4 separate regions of the Homo sapiens genome follow, and all the other regions are linked to region 2. Evidence: promoter capture Hi-C in 16 types of primary human blood cells and fetal thymus (Javierre and others, 2016). All regions are on one chromosome and are shown on one strand. The core of a region is centred on a gene start or on the middle of the fragment in contact, and the rest is flanking DNA. Distances in the headings are between cores, read along the strand shown. Region 1 overlaps LOC105377094 (a long non-coding RNA gene). Region 2 holds the start of CHDH (choline dehydrogenase). Region 3 overlaps DCP1A (decapping mRNA 1A). Region 4 has its middle 36 kb from the start of DCP1A.

What was found. Contacts are between HindIII fragments. The CHiCAGO score rates a contact against its expected background, and 5 or more counts as called.
Region 1: a contact is called between a fragment that was not itself captured here and the fragment with the promoter of CHDH in region 2, in 2 of 17 cell types (M1 macrophages and M0 macrophages). The highest score is 6.2, in M1 macrophages.
Region 3: a fragment that was not itself captured here is called in contact with the fragment with the promoter of CHDH in region 2 in 1 of 17 cell types (M2 macrophages); the score reaches 6.4 in M2 macrophages.
Region 4: a contact is called between a fragment that was not itself captured here and the fragment with the promoter of CHDH in region 2, in 3 of 17 cell types (M1 macrophages, M0 macrophages and M2 macrophages). The highest score is 6.6, in M1 macrophages.

What each region holds. Positions count from the first base shown.
Region 1 is chr3:53,362,396-53,365,634 of GRCh38, forward strand. The region is part of intron 1 of LOC105377094 (a long non-coding RNA gene); the gene reads right to left. Among named protein-coding and RNA genes, the nearest start is that of DCP1A, 16 kb to the left of the region's middle. The HindIII fragment of the contact is 1,361 bases long and covers 1,001-2,361 here.
Region 2 is chr3:53,844,390-53,847,668 of GRCh38, forward strand. CHDH (choline dehydrogenase) reads right to left here and starts at 2,030. Exons shown (of 9, transcript NM_018397.5): 1 at 1,694-2,030. It overlaps IL17RB (interleukin 17 receptor B), which reads left to right and starts at 2,179. Exons shown (of 11, transcript NM_018725.4): 1 at 2,179-2,259. The coding sequence starts at 2,200. RefSeq lists enhancers at 305-1,145, 1,146-1,986, 1,933-2,227 and a silencer at 1,578-2,227. The HindIII fragment of the contact is 5,797 bases long and covers 1-3,279 here.
Region 3 is chr3:53,338,541-53,341,771 of GRCh38, forward strand. All of the region lies in intron 3 of DCP1A (decapping mRNA 1A), which reads right to left. Among named protein-coding and RNA genes, the nearest start is that of SNORD38C, 7.0 kb to the left of the region's middle. The HindIII fragment of the contact is 5,444 bases long and covers 1-3,231 here.
Region 4 is chr3:53,381,583-53,384,816 of GRCh38, forward strand. No RefSeq gene overlaps it. Among named protein-coding and RNA genes, the nearest start is that of DCP1A, 36 kb to the left of the region's middle. The HindIII fragment of the contact is 378 bases long and covers 1,258-1,635 here.

The sequences.
Region 1 (3,239 bases), core at 431-2,930, 480 kb before region 2:
TTGTTGTAGAGTCGGGGGTCTCACTCTGTTGCCCGGGCTGGTCTCAAACTCCTGGCCTCAAGTGATCCTCCCGCCTTGGCCTCCCAAAGTGATTACAGGCATGAGACACCACTGCCCTGACTGAATCAGTTTTATTTAAAGCCATCACCATCAGATATTTGTATGGTGTGCTAAAATACTTTTTTTTTTTTTTTTTGAGACCAGGTCTCGCTCTGTTGCCCAGGCTGGAGTACAGTGGCGCGATCTCAGCTCACTGCAGCCTCTGCCTTCCTGGTTCAAGCAATTCTCCCACCTTGGCTGGGATTACAGGAGCACGCCACCATGCCCAGCTAATTTTTACATTTTTAGTAGAGTTGGGGTTTCACCATGTTGGCCAGGCTGGTCTCGAACTCCCGACCTTAGGTGATCCATCTGCCTTGGCCTCCCAAAGTGCTGGGATTACAGGTATGAGCCACCATCCCTGGCCAATATTTTTAACTTTAAACCAAAAACATAGTCAATATGCTTTTGAGGACTCAGTAGTGTTTCTTCCAATAAACATTTATGCATTTCAATTTTTGATCACATCCATGGTAGATTTATTAGAAATTATTGTGATTCTTTGGAAAAGCATTTATAGAAGTATGGAAGTATGGAAGTGTAGAAGTATAAAGAGGCCAAAGTTTACATGATGAACACATTAGGTAGTTCAATTTTGAATAGACAAAACAATCTTGGGCCTACAGTTCCAGGATAATAATACTGATAAACTATATCAGAGCTCTGCCACAATGAACAAAGCACCATGCTTTTGGTACTTTGATCTTCAATATATTCCCTGCTATATTAACCCATTATGTAGAATGTCCATATATATTATCTCCTTTAACTCAATCCGGGACAGGGCAAGTATGATTACCCTTGTTTTATTTAGGGAAAAATGGGCAGTTCGATATATGAAATGACAGAGCCTGTGTGCAGAGGTGGACCCAGCATTTACCACCACAGCATTCATCCCACAAGCTTGTTCTTCCTCACGACTCATCTGGGATCTTAACCCTTTGGCTTCCAAGAAATCACTTAGCAAAACCCATAAACAAATGCTAATGGACTCATGGTGGTCTAGAGGGCCATTGCCAGGTATTATGTATTTTACCTGATCTATCCTACTACTGGCTTTTATAGTGGATGTTTCACCAAAGCATGAAAGATAGTTTTTTGCTAGCAAAATAATAAAACTGAGCTGTGAAACAAGAAAGGAGAAATCCATAAAAATTCTAGTGTCCATAAAATTTTATTAGATAGCATAAGAACTCTGGGAACTATTTTTGAAAGATCCTTGTGATTGACCTAACTCTTAATTTTGTGACTGGAGCTGGCGTTGCTTTGGAGCTAGCCACAGGTTTCCTTGTCTCCTGCCTCCTCAGTGCTGAGTAACTCAGTGCATTCACTCCCACAGAACTGGACTTTGGAAGGTCTGTTTTTGGCTTTGCCTCCTCTGCAGATGGGGTGCAACCAAGTCAAGATGCTTCCTCTGGAATGGAGTTAATTCTGGATATCTTAGGAACATATCTGGATTCCAATCTGTGGAATGTCCATGATTTTTCTTTTTTTTCTTCCTGTTACCATTTATCTTCTCATTAAAATTTCCATGGTGGCATATGCCTGTAATCCCAGCAGTTGGGGATGCTAATGTGGGAGGATTGCTTGGGACTAGGAGTTTGAGGCTGCAGTGAGCCATGATTGTGCCACTGCACTCCAGCCCAGGCAACAGAGCGAGACCCTATCTCAAACAACAAACGAACAAAAAATTTTCATCAGGTAATTAGGAGTTAGAAAAAGAAGTTAGAAGAGGGGGGAACTAGCAATATAAAGTAGTATATGGTCCTGATATCTAGGGCTGGGTGTCCGGATGAAGAGCGCTCAGAGAAGCTATTACAGAAAAGGCAGTAACGCAACTGAGCCTTGGTGAATGGATAGGGTTAGGATAGCCTGAGAGGACAGGAGAAGATGCCACATCCAATTGTTTTTCTTTCTTTTTTTTTTTTTTTTTCTTTTTGAGACAGAGTGTCACTCTGTTGGCCAGGCTGGAGTGCAATGGCACGACCTCGGCTCACTGCAACCTCGGTCTCCCTGGCTCAAGCAATTCTCCTGCCTCAGTCTCCCGAGTAGCTGGGATTACGGGCATGTGCCACCACGCCTGGCTAATTTTTGCAGTTTTAGTAGATATGGGGTTTCACCATGTTGGCCAGGCTGGTCTCGAACTCCTGACCTCAGGTGATCCGCCCGCCTCGGCCTCCCAAAGTGCTGGGATTACAGGCGTGAGCCACCGCGCCTGGCTTCTTTCTTTTTTTAAGAGACAGGGTCTCACTCTGTCACCCAAGCTTTTGTGTTCAGTGGTGTGATCATGGCTCACTGTAACTTCCAACTGCTGGGCTCAAGTGATCATCCTGTCTCAGCTCCCCAAGTAGCTGGAACTACAGGCACACATCACAACACCTGGCTGATTTTTGATTTTTTTTTCCAGAGATGGGGGTCTTGCCATGTTGCCCAGGCTGGTCTTGAACTCCTGGGCTCAAGTGATCCTCTCACCTCAGCCTTCTGATTAGCTGGGATTACAGGTGTTAACCACTGCACCTGGCCAATTCTTTTTTGTTGTTTTTGTTTCAGAGAAAATCATATGAATTCTCTTTGAGGTTACACTCTTTTGGACTATGTCTTGGGCAGAACTTCTTCTTTTTTCCTATTTGCTGTGATATGTTTGATATGTTAAAGCAGTGTCTCACTGAAAGCTTTAAGACACCTAGCATCTGAGCATTCTAAATCAGAAACTCAAATAATCTTGGCTTTTCCATCTGATGGCTGGCCCCTTGGAAGAAGTCATTTAACTTGTCTGGATCTGTTTTCTTTTTTTTTTTTTTCTTTTTTTTTTTATTATTATTATACTTTAAGTTTTAGGGTACATGTGCACATTGTGCAGGTTAGTTACATATGTATACATGTGCCATGCTGGTGCGCTGCACCCACTAACTCGTCATCTAGCATTAGGTATATCTCCCAATGCTATCCCTCCCCCATCCCCCGACCCCACCACAGTCCCCAGAGTGTGATATTCCCCTTCCTGTGTCCATGTGATCTCATTGTTCAGTTCCCACCTATGAGTGAGAATATGCGGTGTTTGGTTTTTTGTTCTTGCGATAGTTTACTGAGAATGATGGTTTCCAATTTCATCCATGTCCCTACAAAGGACATGAACTCAT
Region 2 (3,279 bases), core at 780-3,279:
GCCTCAGTGCCCTTGGTCTCTCTGCCCCATCTGACCCCATGAGCTCCTCCCTCACTACTGGGCTTTCCTGCTGCAGCCCCTTAGACCTCCCCACCTCCTCAGGCAAGCTCTCCTCCCCAGGGCTCTATCCTCCTCTCCTCTCCACTGCCCCCTGAGAAAGTCTGACTCATGAACCCTGTCTCCAGGCCTAACCTCCGCACCCTGGTTGTCTCAAAGCCTGTGTGCCGAACAACACCAAGCTCACAGCAGGGCCTGCCCTGGCACACAACTGAAAAGCCAGCACAGCCCAGAGCCTGGCCCACAGCACAGAATCAGATACTCACGGAATGAACGCATGTTAGTGAATGGCTGCCTGCTCGCTCGTCTCAGAGGGACTAGCCCTCTATTTTGCCCTGCAGAGCCAACCAGGTGGCCTTTCTAAAACCAAAAATGGATGACCATTTAAGCCTGTACCATTGTTCCTCAGCACCATGGGACAAAGTTCACAATCTTGAGCTTGCAGACGAGGCTGTTTTCATCTGGGCTTCCGCAGCAAGGCGGGTACTTGTGTCCTTGAAAATAATTCTCACTGCACTCATCCTCACTCCAGGAGTACCCATCAGCCAGCACCCATGTGTGGTTCACCTTTGCACCCAGCAGGTATTTGCTGAACAGGAAGATGACTATTAGAGCTGAAAATGTTCTCAAGGGCCACAGGGCCCAAAGCAACTCAGAGAGGTGGAATGAGGGGCTCAGGGTGGCCCAGTCCCAGGCAGGGGTGCGGCCACAACCTCAACTGAGTTCCTTGGTCAGGAAACAGAGCAATTCTCTGAAAATGCTACCTGCAACTCCACACGTATGCATGCCAGAGCCCAAACCCCTGGCTGATCCCCAGTCCATGCAAGCCTTAATCAAGCTGGCAGGTGGGCCAGGCCTGGCACACAAGTAGGGCCTCAGCTAAAACAGCTGCTTGACTTAGTACAGCCTCTCACCAGCTGACAACACACCCCTAAGTTCCATACCCCTCTCTAGGCCTCCGTCTTCTCATCTGTAGAATGGAGCTAATTCTGCCTACAAGTTTAAATGGCCCTGAGTTGGTCACCACAACCCTGTCGTTTGCAAACCGAGGGGGCTGAAGCAGCAGTTCCAGCCTCTGTGACTCCACTGTTAGCCCAGCTGATTTTTGTGAACTTTCCCCCAAACCCACTGTGTCTCAAAGGATGGTCCCTGGGCCACCCACCCACGAATTACGGGGGCGTGGGTGGAGGCTCGTTAAATGCAGATCCCGGGCCTGACCCGGACCTGCCGTCTGGATCTCATTTTAGGCGGCGCTAGAGATCCCGGGCCAGGGAAACTTGAGAACCGCAGCTCCAAATCGCCAGTGCTGACGGCTTCCGCTTTGGGAGCCCCAGGTGTTGCTGTCCGAACTCACTTGGTGGAAACAGACATTTACCAGAAAGCCTGGGGTCGGGCAGCGGGCACTCCTACCGCTCTAACCCCGCGTAGCTGAAAGAATTCGCTCCCTCAAAGGAGTCAGTGAGCTTCGGCAGTCTGCGTTCCACCCGTTTCGCTTCGCGCGGCGGGGCGATTGTGTAAAGCGGGCCCGGGTCTCGGCGTCCAGCCCGGCCCCAAACCTCCGGCCCCCAGGCCTCTCCGGGCTAGCGGCCGGGCGGCGCTGCTGCGGGGTGGTCGGGGCGCCTCCGCGGCTACTCACCCGGGGCGACTCGGCCGAGAGCCCGACAGTCGGGACCGGAGCGGGAGGAGCGGGTGGCCGCGGCCCGGCCCCTGCCCCGCGGCACTTTAACCGGCGGCGCCGGCGCCCCGCGCGCTCTCTGCGTCCGGAATGGGGACGCAGCAGTTCCGACCCGGTCGGCCCCGGAGCCGCGAGGCTAGCTGGGCTCCAGCGGAGGCGCGCGAAGCCCGAGGGCGGGTGCAGCTGATGCACCTGGCTCACTGCATGCACGTGTGCGCGGGGGTAGGCGCGCGCCGCGGCGGCCCGTGCTCCGCCAGCGCTCGGACACGGCCCATCCCTCCGAGCCCCAGCAGGCGAGGGCGCTGCGACCTGCCCCAGCCTGGGAGGGGGCCAGCGGGCCCGCCCTCTGTTCGGGTGGCGGGAATGGGTCGGCGCTGCGAGAGGCGGAGCCGAGAAGGGGCGGCCCGGCGGCGCCGGGATAAAAGCGCAGCGTGCGGGTGGCCTGGATCCCGCGCAGTGGCCCGGCGATGTCGCTCGTGCTGCTAAGCCTGGCCGCGCTGTGCAGGAGCGCCGTACCCCGAGAGCCGGTAAGCCCCCGCCAGCACCTCTTCCCTCATCTCCCGGCCCTCGAGCCCAGATCCTGACGTCGTCTGATCCGCCAGTCCAGGCTGCCCCGAAGGCGTGCGCGGACTGCCGGCTCAAGGGGCATGCCTGCACCCTCAGGGCAGCCCCGGACATCGGCGTCAGGTTGCTTGAGTCAGGGGCGTGGGAATCAGACAGACCCGGTCTCAGATGCCACCCTGTACTGTTGGTTCTGTCATTTATGCTCACCAAGTTCCAAGTCCCGAACGGTAAAACGAAGGGCAGTACCGAACCCACCAGGGTCTCTTAAGGTATAACGACATGGCCTGCAATTAGCGGCGAAGGGCCTGGCACGTAGTTATTGTTACTTGGGGTCTGCTCACCTGTTGGGGCACAAGAACTGTTTCTCCATTAGTACCCCCTCCCTTTTTGGCCATATTGATTGCCATGTTCACTCGTGAAGGCAGTTGCCTTTCTTCCCCAGTACCCTGAATGATCGAGGGAATCTTCTGGGTCACTGAAGAGAAAATAGCTCATCCCCCAAATAACCTTTGAAATGATACCGCTGCCCTCTTAGAATAGCATATAGCATCAAGCTCCGTAGTCACCTGCTGGTGGACAAACCCCATTCACTGTTTCCTGATGTCTTCAGCTCCTATCCTTCCCCTCTGTGTCAGTTCAGAAGCCCTCTTGGCTCTTTGCACTAAAGGGAAGAATTCATCCCTTTTGCTGTAGTTGCTGCAAGGCCAACAATTTGAGCTTGGTAGCATTTAGGGTTGTTGCTTGGCCTCTCACCGGCCGTTTGATAAGAACTCAGCTCCTGGTATGATGGCTCATTTGTTAAAAAAAAAAAAAAAAAGTCAAGTCTGGCCGGGCTCGGTGGCTCACGCCTGTAATCCCAGCACTTTGGGAGGCTGAGGCGGCCGGATTGCCTGAGGTCAGGAGTTTGGGAACAGCCTGGCTAACATGGTGAAACCCCGTCTCTACTAAAAATACAAAAAGTAGCCGGGCATGGTGGCAGGCGC
Region 3 (3,231 bases), core at 655-3,154, 510 kb before region 2:
GTGGGTGTAGATGGGCATGTTTTATAAAGAAAAACTCTTGGCTGGGCGCGGTGGCTCACTCCTGTAATCCCAGCACTTTGGAAGGCCAAGGCAGGTGGATCACGAGGTCAGGAGATCGAGACCATCCTAGCTAACACGGTGAAACCCCGTCTCTACTAAAAATAGAAAAAATTAGCCGGGCGTGGTGGTGGGCGCCTGTAGTCCCAGCTACTCGGGAGGCTGAGGCAGGAGAATGGCGTGAACCTGGGAGGCAGAGCTTGCAGTGAGCCAAGATCATGCCACTGCACTCCAGCCTGGGTGACAGAGCAAGGCTCCGTCTCAAAAAAAAAAAAAAAGAAAAACTCTTAAAAATAAATAAAACAAATAACTTAGAACTGAAAAAAAGTTATGGTTCACTGTTCTAGTACATTAACTCCAAAAATTAATTTGAATGAAAGAAGTTGGATATGAAGGTGTCACTTGAGTTAAATGGGTCAGGTGTCTTGATGGTATTTCCCACAAGAGAATGGCAGAAGTGCAGCTATAGAATCAGGTATAATTACCTGTATGCATAATCAGATACTAACTTTTTATTTAAAGAACAAATCCCTAAACAACTTAATAGCTCGCTGACCTGACAAGACTATTTTCCACTTTTAAGACTATGTAGACAAAACACACACTCGAGAGGGCTTAACACTCACAAAATCATTTTCTGTTGTCTTATCACTTCTCCCCAATACAGCTATTCCTTTAAATACTTTCCCTAATGAAATGACCTGGTTAAGTGAGTTTTCTGTTCAACTAAGAAAACTTTTGTTTCAATCAGTTGAAAATTTTCTAAAGTAAAATGCATTAATGCACTTTCTCCCCAAGAATGTTCTAGTTAACATAATAAATACTCCTGATGATTTTAGGTCTCACTATAACAATTTAACCTATGATACTACAGTGGAGTTAAAGTTATAAAATATTGACATTTTAATGCCGACCCCAGGTTATTCTCTGGATATCTGCTTGATTTTCAGAAAATAAAACCTAGTATTAGCTTGTTTTCTTATAATTTGCCTTCATTTCTTCCACACACGAACTATAAAAATATTTCCAGACAACTGAAGCTCTAATTAGTTAGCTTCTGGTTACTCATGGTTCAATTACATTTGTGTTATGTCACACTTTCAATTTCACAGGACTTTTGCCTTGTGAAAAAAATATAATACAATTCATCTCAGGTTTATGCTAAATGGTAACTGGGTCCGGATAACTTTCCCTACTGACTACTTTAATAATCAAACCACTTAGGAGTGATGGCTAGATTAAGTTTCCAGGCAGTAAAGAACAGAATTAAGCCTATTTCACTTAAAAAAAAATTGGATCCATATTCATTTGCAGAATTTCTCCCACCCTCTTTTCATTTTTTGAGTCAGGGTCTCGCTTGTTGCCCAGGCTGGAGTGCAGTGGCGCAATCATGGCTCACTGCAGCCTGGACAGCCTCCTGGGTTCAAGCGACTTTCCCACCTCAGCCTCCTGGGTAGCTGGGACTACAAGTGTGTGACACCACACCTGGCTAATTTTTCTATTTTTTTGTGGAGTGGGGGTTTTGACATGTTGCCCAGGCTGGTCTCAAACTCCTGGGCTCAAGCAATCTGCTTGCCTCGGTCTCCCAAAATCGTGGGATTGCAGGTGTTGAGCCACTTTGCCCAGCCGAATTTTCCCTTTAATGGAATATTCAGTACAAAGAAAAGAGCAATCTGAAATAATTACATTGTTAACATTAGTTTAAATAAATCCATCTGAACTTACAGCTATTACAAAGCATGTCTAATATGTCCACAGAATTTAAAATCTGAGAGGTAATTACCTGGACAAATAGTTTACTGAGAAGTCAAAAGATAGAACCTATTTCACTTATACTTCAAAGTGTGCTACGGAAAAGAACTTGGGGGTTTCTAGCTTTAAAATAGGCCTTGTTACTTCTCATTCAGGGAATTAAGAGGTGTATAATTTTTAGTAACTTTTTCTATTTTATACTGAAGACATCCCCCAAGACCAATTACCCCCCCGCCAAGTGAAATTCAAACACATTAACTTTTACTTTTTAAGTTAGAAGCAACATTTCTCCAACTATATCCTTAGATGCCAATTAGAGCACAATCATTGTTACCATAACCAGTTTTCATATCCCTATAGTCAATGTCCAACAAACTGTCCTCAAACACCCATACCTTCAATATCCATACTAATACACTGGAATCAAGTATATTTTTTAGTACTGTAGTTTCTTGGAAGGGCCACTCTAGCTTTGCTGACTACATCCAATCGTTATTAGAGATTGTAAAAATGCCTGAAAGAACCCTGGACTAAAAAGCAGAAGAATAGTCATAATCCTAACTCTCCAACAGGGTAATAGTTATGCATCTCTGAGTCTCAGTTGACTTAACTGCCTGCTTACACCACATAGGTAACTGTATCGTTAACATTAAAGCACCACAGCTCTTGGCTCAGTGCTGGTAACCAGTAGACACTCAATTAAATAAACAGATAGAAAAACCTTACTTAGAAACATATTCAGACAAAATAAAGTAGAAAAAGTAATAAATATCTTAAAAAAAAAAACCCATCACCACTATTCTGGGCAAAAATAATATTTTCTGGCCGGGCGTGGTGGCTCATGCCTATAATCCCAGCATTTTGGGAGGCCGAGGCAGGCAGATCACAAGGTCAGGAGATCAAGACCATCCTGGCTAACACGGTGAAACCCCTTCTCTACCAAAAATACAAAAAAATTAGCCAGGCGTGGTGGCGGGTGCCTGTAGTCCCAGCTACTTGGGAGGCCGAGCCAGGAGAAGGGCATGAATCCGGGAGGCAGAGCTTGCATGAGCCTAGATCACACCACTGCACTCCAGCCTGGGCAACAGAGCAAGACTCCGTCTCAAAAAAAAGAAAATAATAATAGTAATAATAATACTTTCTTTGTGGAAAGAATTATCTGTATCTGTTCCCATCCTGTGTGTCCCAAACTAAGTTCTGTTGCTTAGGGACATGGGCAGCTGATAGTCCACAGCTGCAAAAAAACAAAGGCATAAACCTTATTTTAATAAACCGACAACAGAAATGTAGTGCTATTAAATGAAATAGTAAACTAAATTATATACAAAAGAATGTTTCCAGTTTCAGAGCCCAGTTTATTTATTTATTTTTTTGAGACACAGTCTCATTCTGTTGCCCAGGCTGGAGTACAGTGGCGCGATC
Region 4 (3,234 bases), core at 197-2,696, 460 kb before region 2:
ATCACGTGAAGCCAGGAGTTTGAAACCAATGTGGGTAACTTAGTGAGACCTCATCTCTGCAAAACATTGTTTTTAAATTTAAAAATTAGCCTGGCATGGTGGTGTGCCTGTAGTCCCAGCTATTCAGGAGGCTGAGGTGGGAGGATCACTTGAGCCCGGGAGGTTGAGGCTGCAGTGAGTCGTGATCACACCACCTCTGCACTGCAGCCTGGGGACCCTGTCTCAAAAAAAAAAAAAAAAAAAAAGACAACTCACAGAATGGGAGAAAACATTTGTAAATAAAATATTTGTAAATCTTATCTCTGATTAGGATCTAGTATCCAAAATATATTTAAACAACTCATAAAAGAATAAAAAGACAACTGCATTTAAAAATGGGCAAAGAATCTGAACAGACATTTCTCCAAAGCAGATATACAGATGGCCAATAAGAACATAAAATGATGCTCAACATCATTAGTCATTAGGGAAATAAATCAAAACCACAGTAAGATACTACTTCACACCCACTGGGATGGCTATGATGAAAAAAAAAAAGAAACACCAGAAAATAAGTGTTAGCAAGGATGTCGAGAAATTAGAACACTCATAACATTGCTGGTGGGAAGGCAAAATCCTCAGCCACTTCAGGAAACAGTCTGGGAGTTCCTTATAAGGTTAAACAGTTACCTTATAACCCAGAAATTCCATTCCTAAGTATATACTCAAGACAACCGAAAACATACATTCACACAAGAACTTGTGCATGAATGCTCATAACAGCATTACTCATAACAGCATTACTTATGAATGCTCATAACAGCATTACTCACAATAGTCAAAAGAAGGAAACAACCCAAATGGCCACCAGCTGATGAATGGAGAAACAAAATGTGGCACACAGTGGAATATTATTTAGCCATAAAAAGAAACGAAATACCGATGCATGCTAGAACGTGAATGAACCTTGAAAACATTATGCTAAGCTAGAGAAGCCAGACAGAAAGGGCCACATACTGTATGATTAAATTTATAGGAAATATCCAGAATAGGCAAATCCAGAGAGACAAAGTAGATTAGTGATTGACGGGGGATGGGTGGAGGGAGGAATTGGGAGCACCTGCTAACAGGTATAGGGTTAATTCTTGGTGTGATAGAAATGTTCTGCAGTTAGATGGTGGTGATGGTTGTATAACTCCATGAATTTGCCACTGAATTATACATTTCAAAATGTTTAAAATGGTGAAAATTTTATCTCAATAAAAATAGTATTCTACAAGCTTTAAGTGATACATATATTTGAATCATCTAATTTAAATTAAGTTTCTGTGTTCTGTTTTTTTTTTAAAGAGATAGGGTCTTGCTCTGTTGCCCAGGCTGCAGTGCAGTGGCACAATCATAGCTCACTGCAGCCTCAAACTCCTGGACTTAAGCAATCTTCCTGCCTCAGCCTCCCAAGTAGCTCAGACTACAGGCATGTGCCACCACACCTGACTAATTTTGAAAAATTGTTTGTAGTGATAGGGTCTCACTATGTTCCCTAGGCTTGTTTCGAAATCCTGGGCTCAAGCTATCCTCCTGCTTCGGCCTCCCAAAGTGTTGGGATTACAGGCGCAAGCCACCGCACACAGCCTTCTGTGTTCTTTATTGCAAGCAAGCTTTGTTTCTTTTTTATAGTCTGTCAGGGTTTGATTTTGAGGCAACTCCAGGTTGGGGTTTGGGCATATGCTTGTTGAATTTTATGTGGTTGTTATACCTCACCTCCTGCCCAGCTAGTTTATAGTCTCACTTTCAGAAGATAGTAAGGGAATCTGGCCATCACTAAAATCATGTCTACCTAATGGCAAAACATTTGGTGAATTTCATTTAAAAAATCAAGCTGCAAAAACTAGACTCTTAGAAGTCAAGATTGTGGTTGCCCTTGGTGGGGGGATGCAGATGATAATAATTTGTAAGGAAACATGAGGGAGGTTTCTGCAGTGCTAGGGATATTCTATTTTGCTGGATGCTGGTTACAGGGGTGTGTTTGATTTGTGAAAATTCATCTTGTGGTACACTTACACAATGTGCACTGTTCTGCATGTTTGTTATACTTCAATACCAAGTTCATAATTCAATTCAACCTCCAGATAGGTATGTATGATATCAACAAATTGGTGTAATTAACTGGGTACCAGAGTTCACTAACTTGGCCTGCTGCCTTAGAGATGACACCCAGCCATGGCCATGGATTCCAAAAGGTTTTGTTTCCATGGACAGCTGCGTAGGTCAGAGCTCTGCACCAGGGCCCTGTCATCCTCACCATCTCCTAACAATGGATTTCAACAGCAAGGCCATGGCTCAGCTGTGCCTCCTATGTATTGGGGCTGCTGGAATGTAAACCCCCTGGAGGAGGCGATGCTCTGAGTCAGGAGTAGCACTACCAGGCAGGTGTGCCCCACTCCCTGCTCTGCCACTGGTGCCAGACCCCCAGAAGCTACCATGGAGCTTGCCCTTTCCACCTGGACCCAGAGATGTCATGGTGGGTGCCCATGACAAACTGACCCAACTGGTATTCTAGTGGCCTCAGGCCCACAATACTAGATCTAAAGTATTCCATGCTAAATGTATTTCAGCATTAAGGTATTTTTGAATTTTAGAAAGGTGATACATTGCATTTAGTATATGTTATACCATACTGCCAACATGGTCTGGGGTAGCTTTCTGTAATCAGACAGTGATGAATTTTTCCACTAAAGGGAATGAAGACTACAAATAGTCTCATTTCAATTCAGTCCAATGTGTGCTACTAAATGAGTTTGTGTCAAACTTCAAAAAGTTTTTTAGGCTGGGTGCAGTGGGTCATGCCTGTAATCCCAGCACTTTGGGAGGTTGAGGTGGGAGGATTGCTTGAGTCCAGGAGTTCAAGACCAGCCTGGGCAACATGGTGAAACCCGATCTCTACAAAAAAAATTAGCCAGATGTGATGGCATGTGCTCGTAGTCCTAGCTACTTGGGAGGCTGAAGTGGGAGGATCACCTGAGCCCAGGAGGTCAAGTCTGCAGTGAACTGTGATTGTACCACTGCACTCCAGCCTGAGTGACAGGGCAAAACTTAGTCTCAAAAAAAAGTTTTTTGGTATTCAGAGTTTGGGGATTTTGGAATTGCTCATAAGAGAGAACATGAGTCTGTCTCAGTCAATTTCACCACTAAATAAATGAGTTTCAGTTCTTTCTCGACAGAGGTTCATGGGCAGAGGTGCTGAGTGGCACCTCT